Linked DNA regions of Homo sapiens: regions 1 and 2 are each linked to region 3. Evidence: promoter capture Hi-C in 16 types of primary human blood cells and fetal thymus (Javierre and others, 2016). All regions are on one chromosome and are shown on one strand. Each heading gives the region's core, a stretch centred on a gene start or on the middle of the fragment in contact. The rest is flanking DNA. Distances are from core to core; before and after follow the strand shown.

Region 1 (3,784 bases), core at 912-3,411, 2.3 Mb before region 3:
GCATCGTTAACTTGTATCCATCCTTTTCTCCGAGTGGCATTGTGATATTGCTGTCTGTGGCACATCTTACCCGATATAGCCCGAGATTTCCCCATTCTCTGTAACCAGGCAACCCTTTCTGAATACCCAAAAATTGAAAAGAACCGCTTAGTCTTCAAGAAAGTCCTCAATAATAGTGGAAAAGAACAAAGATCCAGGAGACAACAAAATGCCACAGGGGTGACTTTTCATGAGCAATTATCTCTCATTAATCAGAAGAACAGCTGCAATATTAATTTTCTCTCTTTCTTCCTCTCTTTTCACAGTCCCCAACATTTGAATAATCATAAATTTTGATTTTATGAAGGAGTCACATTTTCAGGGGCTGGAGGAAAGCAGCTACCTAGGTGAAGACAAGAAGAAAATGCTCTCATTTTATTTTATTTTTTGTTTGGGTAAAGCTGCCAACAAAGCAAAATGGAAAAAATAAAAATAAGAAATGCCAGAGAAAATGCCCCCCCCCCTTTCTTCTTCTAGATGGCTGTTGAGAATAAGGACTCTCTTCTCCCCCACCCTCTGCTCACAACTACCCCTCCTTTCTTTCCTCCCCCCGCCCAGACCCATTCCCCAGTTTTGCTCTGAGCAGGGCGGAGGGAAACGTCCCTGGCGTCTGGCGTGGGAGTTTCAGCCGGGTTTCTGCCCGTTTAACTTGCAAACGTGAAGCCAAGCGTTGTCGATCTGACCAAAGAGACACTCTTTGGGCGTAACTTGCATTGTGGCCATCAAAAGCCCGCCAGCCTTGGATGAACTGAGAAGTGTATTCAGCAGAAATGGGGCGCTCGCTCTCCTTTCAGGCTCTGGAGAGGCAATTGTTCACAGGATGTGTAGCCAGGGTGGAAAACGTGGGTCCCCAGATAAGGCTATAACCTGCAAACGAGCTTGGGGGAGTTAAAAGAATCTCATTAAAGCCCCGGCTGCAATTAGCAAATACACACTCATAGAGAACTCAAGCTCCTCTTGAAAAGCTGTGGGTCAAGATGAAAGAGGGCAGTTGGGAGCTAGTCCCCACATTCTTGTACTGCTTGAGTGATGGGGGGCTCAGGAGCCAGGCTATTCCTTCAGCTGCCCCAATATTGTTAGTTTTAATGCAAGGCCAGGGAAGGCCTTTCTAGAGGGAGGGCAGGCTGTGGGCCCTGTGTTCATGCACCACCAAAAATAATCTTGCTTCTCCCTGGTGTTTATTCAGAACGGATGGGCTTTTGAGAAACCTGAATTCGCCTTTGTGCTCACCACAGTTGCAAGAGTTCAATTCGGCCCTCTGAGAAGAAGCAGCGGGGAGAGGGGGGTGGGGGGTGGTAGTGGAGGTCTTCTGAGAAATAAGTGAGGGGTTTGGCTTAGAATTTCAGGAACGGCCCAGTTGGAAAAAAGTTGTGATGGCACTGAATGCCTGCCACACAGCCCCTCTGCTCCCCACTTCACTTTAATTAATATTCGCCCACCCCCAAATCCTCAAGCCGAACAAGGCATCCCTCTCCCACCCTCAGAGCTCTCCTCTGTCATCAGAATAAAATTTATCGAGCGCCTACTCTGTGCCCAGCGTGTGCTAGGCACTGCAGGGAGCAGGCCTGAAAAGGCCAAGACAGTATCCAATAGAATATTGTTTCATTTCAGTAACAATGGCCTGAGGTGGGGAACAATTATCCGGATAATTGAAGCAAATGCTTCACCTCCCTCCCTCCCTCTCCAGTTCTCCTGGCACTTACTATTTTTTACTACCCTATTCAGAGATGTGGTTTTTGTATTGGAGGGCGGGCGGGGGAGGCAGGAGTGTGTAAGAGGAGGGTTGAATTATTCACATGCATACCAATTCCCCACTTCCCTTGGCCTAAATTTTCTGAAAGCTTGGAGCCAAAATAGCTGCTTAGTTATGGGAGCAAAGACTTAAAAAAAAAAAAGTCACTAAAATAAGAGCAATTCTTTATAATTTTTAGCAGCCCAGCCCTTCTGGTTTTTGATCTTGGTCATCTACAAAAATCACCTGGAGAGCTTTATAAAAATACTGATTACCTAAGGGATTTCGATTTAATGATGTGAGGCTGGAACACGGCGGGGTGTAGATGGAGGGGGAGACAGAAGTCAACCAGAATTCTGCATGCGGTTCTGATGTAGTTGAGAAATAACTGATAAATCCTGCCCCCTACGCCCTCCTACCATGGAATCTGAAGAGAGCAACGTAACTTTTTTGAGCCTTATCTGGTCATTTGATAGTTGGAAAGTGTGTATTGAGCGCCTATTATACCCCAGGCTGCGCGCAAGGGAATTCAGTAGCACAAGACCCGCCCCCGGGGAGTTTCCAGGTTAAGCGAATCAACAAATTAACTCGGAGCTGGTGAGTTAAAAAGGTCGTGTGAATATGAAAGAAAAGCTCAAGGGGCTCTGGGTGATGATAAAACCGAAGCTTGAAGTGACATTTAAACGGAGACCTGCAAGATGTGCGGGTGTTGGCCTGGGAAAGAGGGATGGGGAATGCGTTCCCGGCCACCTAAGGGTGCTCACGGGAGCCTCCGAGAGTTTCTCTTGGTTAATTGCAAAAACTGAAAGGAGGCCTAGGAAAGTGGAGAAAGAATTTCAGTTTCTGCATCTGTAAAATAGAGAAAATGCCATCGTCTTCGAGTTTTTGTGAGGAATTCAGGACTGCCTAACACCGGGCCTGGTGCCTGGTAAGGCTCGTGGCTTCTCTTGTTGGTTTTATTATTATCTGAGACCTGCAGCTCCATAGGCTCTTGAAGCTTGTAAATTAGGTATCAGAGTCCCTGGGCTTGGCAACTAGGAGCCAGGAAGCCGCTGCACAATCATCTCTCCGTCCCCCCGCGCCTTTTCCCGGCCGAGTGTTGCCCTCTAAGGCTCCTCCACAGCCTGGCGCTCGCACCCTGAAGGCGCCCAGTGTGGGGCCTTTCTATCCCTCGGTTTCCGGGCATATGTTTGTTCAGCAGTTACATTAACCTCGCCACTCCCCACCCCCGTCAAAGGCTCTGGCGTCCTGGCCGTCCCTACTTGGGACTGCGCCCTAAATTTCAAAACGTTCCTATGATATTAGAAACCTCCCAGCTTTGCTGCACACCCACCTGCTTTGCATAGGAGGAAAACAGTCGCCTTTCGAGTATATGACAATACTCGTAGGTACATTTTCTGAGCTCTCACTGTGTGGCAGTTCTTGAACCAAGAGCCTTGCCTGCATGACCTCATTAATCCGCACAACAGCCCTCCCAGATAAAATGCCATTATTTTCTCCTCATTATGTTTGCGGAGAACCCTATTTGAACTACTGAAGTTCAAAGACTGAACCAAGGTCACACAGCTAGTGATGGCAGAGCCTTTTAGGCACTAAGCAATACTAACCACCTGATAACACCTAGCATTTATTGAACACCTACTATATGCCTGGCAGTGGCTGAAGACTTTAATGCCTCCTTTATTTCTCACAGCAACCCTGTGAGGTAGGTGCTTTTATTACTTCCTTATTTGTTGGCTGTCCATTTGTTGGTTAGTGTGGTTGGTTTTCCTACATATTAAAGGTTCTGAGGGCCAGTCCAATGTACGGACTGAAATTAGAATGAGGACAGGGAACATGATTGTTTTTATTCACCTGTGCCCAGAACACAGTAAGCGCTGAAAAACATTTGGAGTGGATGAAAGCAATATTTTATTATTTAATTCAAAAGCCCTCTTCATAATCAATCCGTATGCTTGTTGACTGCAAACTGCTCCTGGGCAGAAACTGGGTCTGTTTTATGTATTCACCAGT
Region 2 (3,995 bases), core at 1,363-3,862, 2.4 Mb before region 3:
TCCCTCCTCAGTCCGCGTCCCGAGAGGAAACTGGCCCAGGGGCGCAGAGCTGGGAGCCTGGGATCTCCTTCAAGTCCTTCTCGATCTAAGGATTTAAACAAGAGCCAGGGCACCGGGGGCTAACGACGGGTTCATTCTTGGCTTCCCCTCACTCTTGTGAACGAGGTCCAGCTGCACTTGGGTCAACCCAAAACTGCAAGCTCCGAAGCAGGGCCTGACCAGGGCGTCAAAGCGAGCCTGGTCGGCCTTGCGCCTGTCGGGGAGTCGAGGCAGGGCCTCCTCATCTTGAGGGTTGTGGAAAGGAGGAGGCCGAGGAGAAAGGGAGAAGAGGGGATGCAATTCAGCAGTGCCGGGGTCCAGGTTGACCAGATTAGGGGTCGGGGATGGGACAGCGCGGCGGCTGGGGAGGTGCGCACGCCCGGAGAGCCCCTTCCTCCCCTCCTGTGGCTCCGGGGATGTTTGTCCGGTGAGATGCACTGCGGAGGACTGTCGTGCGTTTGCCCTGGATGCTCCCTGCTCCAAAAATCTGTCTAGTTCTTGTCAGGAGCGACCGCGGCGAGGCGAGTCGGTCCAAAACATTGAGCAATTTGGCCTCGGAGCCAAAAAGCCATTTCCCACACCGCCCAGCCCGCGGCTTTTCGGACGCGGGGCGGTAGGGACCTGATATGGGCCCCATCCATGCTTGCCTCCCACCCAGGAAGATGGAGTGAGTGGCAAGTTCTTCCAGGCACTCCTTGCGCACATCCTGAGGTCTTAGCACAATTCGGGGAGCGAAGTGCGGGACCGGCGCTCTGGCTGCGGGAGGGATGCACAACGCACAGCCTGCCAGGCCAGCAAGTCCTTCCCGACCAAGACGCGAGGCCAGGCCATCGGCAGCTCTCGCACACCTGGCCCGGCCCAGGCTCCTGGCTCCCTCTGGCAACGTACTCGGGTTGGGCCACACTCGTCGCTCCGACCTGGCCGACACCCTCCCGGAATAGAACAGCTGATCCCACATATTCAATGCCAAATGGACGCCGCCCGCTCCCTGGGCGCAGCCGGGCGGAGTTAATTTCGTGTGTAAATCTGGTTTCCATGGGGGTAGACAGCAGAGGAAGGAGAAGTACGCACAGACGGCTCTGAAGCCGGCAGGGAGAGGAATGGAAAAAAGGCCAACTAGAGAGGACCGAGCAGCGCTGGGCGAGCTCAGACGGCAAGTGCCACGCACCCCCGCGCGGAGAAGGGTGCCGGGTAGGGGGTGTCCAGGGCTCGGGTGCCCGGAGGGAGAATATGGTTTACCTCCCACCTTTCTGTCTTACCTGCAAACAAGTTTCCCCAGTTCCAAGTCGTCCCTAACTTCCTCACAAGAAGTTCGGCACCTTCCTGGAGACCTTTCCTCTCTTCCTGCCTGCGGCCAGAACTGAGCGAAAGCAGAGCCCCCGGGCAATGCAGAAATGATTCCACCGAGGAGGGGGCGCGGGAAGACAGGCGGGGGCGGGGGCCACGGAGCACAATGAGGGCCCCTTGGTGTGCGGTTCGAAATTCCTCAAATCCCAGTTGCTGGAATGCGAGGCGACGACGACTTCTTCACTCAGGGCCAAATGTGTTTGTCATTATTCCAGACCGCCCGCCCGCGCCGCCGCTGTCGCCCCCGCGCTAGGGCGTGCAACCCGAGCACACTGCCCGGCAGGCACCCGCTCTCCCTGGCACCTCACTGACCCAACAAACCGCTCCAGAGCGCCCCAAACCCTTGCCCACGCCCGCGCGCCTCTGCTTGTCCCGCAGCCGCCTCACCGCCGCGCCAAATCTGGCCCCGACTCTCTCCCAGAGCAGCGCCGTCCAGTAATCACGCGCATTCGGCCGGCTCCCTGTGCTGTAGGCCAACACCGAGGTCCGGTCTCCAGCCGAGCCCAGCCCGCCTCCTGCGCCCCGCAACCCCTTCGCGCGCCCCCCTCCACGCTCCCCTCCACGCTCCCCTCTCCCCACCTCCCCCTGGTCCCCCAGCCGCGCTCCACACCATGGGCTGCAGCGCTGTCCCGCCAAACCGCAGGCGAGGAATGAAAACACTCATTTAAAACCTGTCGCCTTCCAGGACCCACTGCCAAGAAGAGGGCAAACACCTCTGCCTCCACCCCCAGTTCCTTGGTGTTCGGCCCAGTATTCACGAACACCACCCCCACTCCCAAAAGAAACCTCAAAAATGTAAGCCTAAACAATTTCTTTGGGAGGCCATAGGGTTGTTAGAAAAACATTGTTTTTAAAAATAGGTCTGGAAAATGTGTGTTTAAAAAAAATACCTAGACTTTCTAACTCTATGGTTATCTCCCACCCGTCCCCAAGTGAAGTTTATTCCGAAAAAAAAAAATTACTCTCTGGACACACAACTGGAATCCAGCTCCTTTTTTTTTTTCTTGTCGCCCAAAGTTTGAAGTTACTTCGCTTTCTCCAGTCCCAGAGTCTGATCAGGGACTTCCCTTATAAACAAAAAATCATTTTTTCTTTTCCCTTACCTTCTCCTCCGATGTTATTCCGCAATGAATGTCCCACACATGGAGTAAAGAGCGTGCCCACGGCCTCCAATGATCTCTTGCAGTCTCCTCCTCTGTTTCTCTCCCTGTAGCTCCAACAGTAATGGGCTCAAAAACCGCGTTTTGTAATTGATTCAATGTTATAGTCCATCCTTCTAAAACTAATCATTTGCTCTAAGTAAATAGCTGTCAGGAAATAAGCCCCCCCTCAACCTTGGTCTCTTCAAAATAAAAGTTTCTCTCAAACTCCCTGCGCTCCGAATCTCCCAGTGTCCAGATTGCGCCTTCGCTTTTTGCTCTTACGCAATCAGGGGGTCCAGTCCCAACCCCCAGACTTCGACAACAACTGGGGGGCGGGGAGAAGCAGACCAGATGGGATGGGGGGTGGTGGAAGGGGGAGGTGTTGGTGCTCTGCCGGGAAAGAGGTTTTGTGAAACTACAAACAGCCCATCATTTCCAGAATGAGTTTGCCTCCCCATTTTGGGGTTATTTTCTTAGACTGCTATAGTTTTGTATTCTCTTTGAAAAGAAGAAAAGGAACATACAAAATTGCATTTAATACCCAGAGAGAATATAAATCTAGAATCAAGAAATGTCCCTTCTACAAACTCGGCCCAACGAGAAATAGGGCCCTCGGGAGAAATCTCCAAGCGGTTGCGCCGTTTTGAACTAGGGGTCTTTTAGGGGAAGGGCTATATAGTTGCTAGTTATTTAATAGGATTGGGCAAACTGTTGAGTCCAATATGACAATGATGGGTTTTTGTTTTGTGTGGTGTGTGTGTGTGTACAAGACTGGGTGGTCTGAAATACGGTACAAAGAAAAGAGGGTCTGTGTAGGTTTGGAACGTTCTCCGATAGAACGACCTTTACTCCCTTGAAGTCACTTATCTGGTCGTGCCTTTGTTTTCGGGGTTATCTGGGCGAGGTTGCCCTGGCTTCTATCTCGCATACAAAAAAAGCTCAAGCTTGGGCGTTTGAGGAATCGTACCACCGCCTCCGCGTCGTGGGGGAGGATGCCTTTTGATTCTCCCTCCGTTCCCTCCCGCCGCGTGGGTCGAACCCTACGAATTCCTTGGAATTGACAGCTGAGCCCCAAACCCTGCGCCCAAGGCGAGAGGCCAGTGTCGGGAGGAAACGATCCTGCCGGCGAGGGAAAGGGGGCGCTGATGCTCCAGGAACCAGACCTGGGCAGAGTGGGGCTTCCCAGCGACAGCGGGGGAGGGGAGCGCGTTCACCTTCATCGCTCTCTGATTTTTGAATTCTCCTGTTGGGGTTGGGGGTCATCCTTCATCCTTCTCCCTCAACCCCACCCCAACACACGCACTCTGAAAATGGCCAAAGTGGCCAGGTTGGGACTGGCATGTCCAACAGCCGTCTCCTCCTTCACCAGGAGGGTGGACACAGTGCAGTGGACAGGGGAGAGTCACAGAGAAGTACTCCAACGGGCGCGGTGCTGTGCCTAACCAGGACAGGATCTTGGGATGTCAG
Region 3 (4,095 bases), core at 213-2,712:
GGCACCAACCCCCACACCTGATAGCCAGAAATTAGACAACTGCGTCACAGACTATCAAACCCACGGACTGCCAGGGACCCCGACACCTCCCCGGCGCCAAGCCCCCGACCCGGCCATCAGGGCCCGACCCCTCCGGCTCCCGCTGCTGAAACCCCGCAGCCCGCACCCCTGCCCCGCCTCCTAGTCCCGCTGCCGGAGCCCGCGCCAGCGCTGACCTCGCTTCCCGCCGTCCGGGGGGAACCACGGCCAGTTCCAACCTTAGGGCACTTACCCCGTCTCCTCCACCTCAGCCCCGCCCCCTCCTCTCTCCGCACCCCGAAGCTTGGACTCCCCCCTTCAAGGGACCCTGCCTCGACAGGGAGAGGAAGTACCTCCCCTAAGCACAGTCTGACACCCCCTTAGCCCGGCTCCGGACCGAATCTGGACGTGACAGTCCTCCTGCCCAACTCCGCCCCACCTCCCCTTCCTCCCCGACTAGCTCCTCACCCCCATTTCATATTCTCCACCCCTGCCCCCACTCTGCCACCCCAAATCCTACCCACCTTTTTCTCCTCTTCCTCCCAATCGCCCTACCCTTCCACACCTGCCCCATCTCTTTACCCCAACATCTTCCACTCCCACCACTCTCCGTTACCCACCGCCCTTCCAACGCCCCTCCCGCCCCGCAGGACTCCCCAACTACCATTACACCCCAGTCCCTCCCACCACCTCGCTTTCCCGTTACATCAGCCCTCGTCCAGTCGCCCGCCCTCCTGCCCCGCTCGGCCGCTGCCCCCATTCCCCCACCCCATTGTTCGCCGCCCCCCCCCCACCCCCCCGCCAACCAGCCCTTCTTCCCATTGTCCCCGCCCCCGCGCCCCCCTCGCACTCACCCGCCTTTCTCACGGAGCCGCCCGCACCACTCAGCCCTTTGGAAATCCTCACCCTTGTGCCCCGCTCGCTCGCTCGCTCCCTCCCTCTCCCCGCCGGTGCCACCCCCCCACATCCCCGGCCCTGCCCGCTACAGCCCAACGCTGCCTCCACCTCCATGCACCCCGGACACTCCGATCTCGGCCCTTCATCGCACGTCCAGCCCTCCCTTCCCCCAACACTGAAAGAGAGCCAGTCCCCACCCCCCTCACCTCCGCCCTCCCCGCAGGCCGGTCCCTTCCCCCCACGCCCGCCCCCGCCCCACGCCGCCCGCAGCGTCACCGCCCGCCCCGGCCCCGGGAGGGGAAGGGGTGGTTCCCAGGCAGGGGCTCCCGGCGCGTTTCGGGACCCGAGGCGTGGGGCGGGGACTGCGGGAGCCGAGTGGCGAGTTTGGCAGCCGCCCGGCCCCGGCCCGCTGGCTGGCTCTCTGCTACTCACTGACAGCGGCGGCATCCGAGTGCATTTTCAGGCAGCTCACACCCGGCTCGCCGCCCAGGCTCCCGCGCTCGCCTCGCGGTCCCCCCACCAGCTCACTGCACCTCGGCTCGAAGCTGAGGACCCGCCGCCGGGCACTCCCAGCCCGCCCATCTCGCCTTCTCCATTGGCTAAACCGCGGCTCAGGGGCCGCCCTGCTGCGTCTCTCATTTGACAAAAGGAGTGCCCATAGCGCCGGTCTGGAGCTGGCAACGAGGCCCCGCCCCCCACTGGCCAATACGATTGGTCCTGGGGCCTTGTCTCCGTAACGCCCCTGGCGGAGGCCATGCTCCGGAGCAGCGGGTTGGGCCCGGCTGCTGTCAGTCACCCCCAGGGGTCCGAGAGCGCGTGTAGGGGCGAAGCTGGGAAATTGGTCCACCTTGACCCTGAAACCCCGCCCAGTGGCGGGCGGGATTGGTGGAGCTGGAGACCCACCAAGAAAGATGGGTCGGCGTCTGAAACAAAGCACGCGAAGTGTTTCCCAAAGAATAGAGCAGCGCAGCGCAGTTGGGGGCGGCTCGTACCAGCTGCTGGAAGTAGGGAAATGCGTCCGTCCCTAGCGCCCGGCGCGACGCGGCCGGGTCTCCCGCCACTTGTCCCACGACACTTGTCCAGTTCGCGCCGAACTCGGACTGGGACTTCTCTTGTCAGCTGCTTCCTACCGCAGGAAACTGGATTAAGAATTGCCGCGTCTTAATTTCCAGCAAACCTTCTGGTGGGGAGCAAATTTCCATTTCTCCTACGAAGATCCATCCTCTCCCCACTTTCGAAATGTACTTCTTTTCCAGAGTCCGCATACTTGTTTCGCAGAGTTCGCACACTTCTTTCCTCTAGTCACTAATGTCTGTTAAAGAGGCTTCGAATGCCACGAGCATTGTCCGTCACACACATCTGTATGCCCCAGACATCAGACAGAAATACAGGGCCGCGCTCTGAGCTGCGGACTGAGCCTAACACATGGACGAGTCCAGGGGGCAGACCACCAGCCCGTGAAAGACCCCCGGCGGCATCTAAGAAAACCTGTCACTCCCGCGGAGAGGCCGTCCAGAAATTGAAACTGGCTGTTATTTGGCAGAGGGAGACGTTAATTTTGGTGAATTCTTCTGACCCTAAGTCAAGAATTCGCACCATTTCCATGAGTCCTGCCCTGATTTTTCAATACTTGAAGCTAACTTATCACACCGCATTATGGTAACAGAACAATATTTCGAGATATTAACGGAGGATTCCCCCCACCCCAACCCACCCCCACCCTACCCTGCCTCCACCCTCATCCCAGCCACCAACTCCAACAACAACACACCTACAAGGCATCCCCATATCCTAAGGCCCTGGGCCATCTGGGAGCCTCAAAGAGTAGGTGACACCACAAATCACAGGTAACAGAACGCACGGTCTTTTTGGTTTTAGATTTCTACAGCCCAGGCTTTTGGGTTTCCAGGCTCTGAAATTTAGATTTTAAATCAGGACACAAATGTTATGCTATTTGGAAGGGGCTCAGACAAACCAGTTTCTGTGTCCCACAGCACTCCCATGGTAAAATGCTCCCTCCATCTTAATCGCTAATTTCTCTTTAATAAATTACATCCTTATAATACTATTTATATAATATTTTTATCATTCAAACATTTATGAATCACTTTATGGAATCTCAGAACTGTACCTGAAGTTATTTATTATTTGCTTCAGGTTCTTTCGCAAGACAAGAATCTCTCATAGAACATCCTTATTGATCACCTTTATCATGACAGTACCTCAGCGGGGCCCCACAGTGATGGGTAGGTACCTCTGGACTCTGAGATAGGGGATTGCTTGTTGGGCAGATCTAGCAGTAAGAATATCCGCCCTTACTCTGAGCAGGGAAGCTGCTCCTGCATTCTTTATTCTATTTATGTTTCAGCTTAATCTACATCTAGGAAATAATAAATTATATGTCATTTAATACAAGTTTCAAATCTTTTGTGTGTGTAATATTTATGATTTTTTTTTTTACCGTTTACCATGGTACTTCAAAGACTGAGACACATGTTATTTTGCACAGAAAAGGGCTTCCTTCGTGACACCTCTAAATTACAATAAGCCCACAATTAATTATAGCTAGTCATTTGCTCTATTAATTTATTTGCAGCATACTTTATAATAATGTGTATAAGAGTTAAGCTAGATGAAGGATGGGTCGGCTGCTTTGCCCCAGCTCCCAACACTGGCCTGGCATATGCATGGTGTCCATAAAAATTTATAGAATGTACAACCTCTGTTATTTCTCAACATTGCTTTCAGTTGAGTCAGTATGATTATTTTCAAGTAGAAAACAGACTTAGAGGTAATTTACCCAGATCTTTATAAAGAGTCAGCTATAGCCTAAGGATTGAGAGGCAAAGCTCATTCCTAGTCGGCTGACCCTCACTGCCCCCACGTTTTACAAAGTATAATAAAATGACTACATAATGCTCTGCAAATATTACCTGGTCATTTAAATAATCCACACCATATAAACCTCTGATATCAGGAAACTTGTTATAGTTATCTTTTTACTTGCCTAGCACCTAGTACAATGCTTTCAAATATTGTGGTAGGCACTGGTTAACCATACCCCTTAAAATGAATGTTTACCGTACATGAAATTTTAGATCTGGATAGGAACCTTGGTGATTATCAAATCCAACATCTTCATTTTAAAAATAAGAGACTTGACATCCAAAGGAGTTAAAT

Evidence for each region. The method cuts DNA at HindIII sites, captures the fragments that hold promoters and counts their contacts. A CHiCAGO score of 5 or more calls a contact.
Region 1: a contact is called between a fragment that was not itself captured here and the fragment with the promoter of DCUN1D4 in region 3, in 1 of 17 cell types (non-activated CD4 T cells). The highest score is 5.9, in non-activated CD4 T cells.
Region 2: a contact is called between the fragment with the promoter of PDGFRA here and the fragment with the promoter of DCUN1D4 in region 3, in 2 of 17 cell types (naive CD8 T cells and total B cells). The highest score is 6.3, in naive CD8 T cells.

What each region holds. Positions count from the first base shown.
Region 1 is chr4:54,092,599-54,096,382 of GRCh38, reverse strand. No RefSeq gene overlaps it. Among named protein-coding and RNA genes, the nearest start is that of GSX2, 5.7 kb to the left of the region's middle. RefSeq lists enhancers at 1-552, 2,740-3,359. The HindIII fragment of the contact is 557 bases long and covers 1,883-2,439 here.
Region 2 is chr4:54,227,910-54,231,904 of GRCh38, reverse strand. PDGFRA (platelet derived growth factor receptor alpha) reads right to left here and starts at 2,612. Exons shown (of 23, transcript NM_006206.6): 1 at 2,490-2,612. RefSeq lists an enhancer at 3,314-3,995. The HindIII fragment of the contact is 8,996 bases long and covers 1-3,474 here.
Region 3 is chr4:51,840,520-51,844,614 of GRCh38, reverse strand. DCUN1D4 (defective in cullin neddylation 1 domain containing 4) reads right to left here and starts at 1,462. Exons shown (of 11, transcript NM_001040402.3): 1 at 1,348-1,462. The coding sequence starts at 1,372. RefSeq lists silencers at 235-354, 905-984, 1,085-1,434, 1,525-1,574, 1,585-1,734. The HindIII fragment of the contact is 3,870 bases long and covers 324-4,095 here.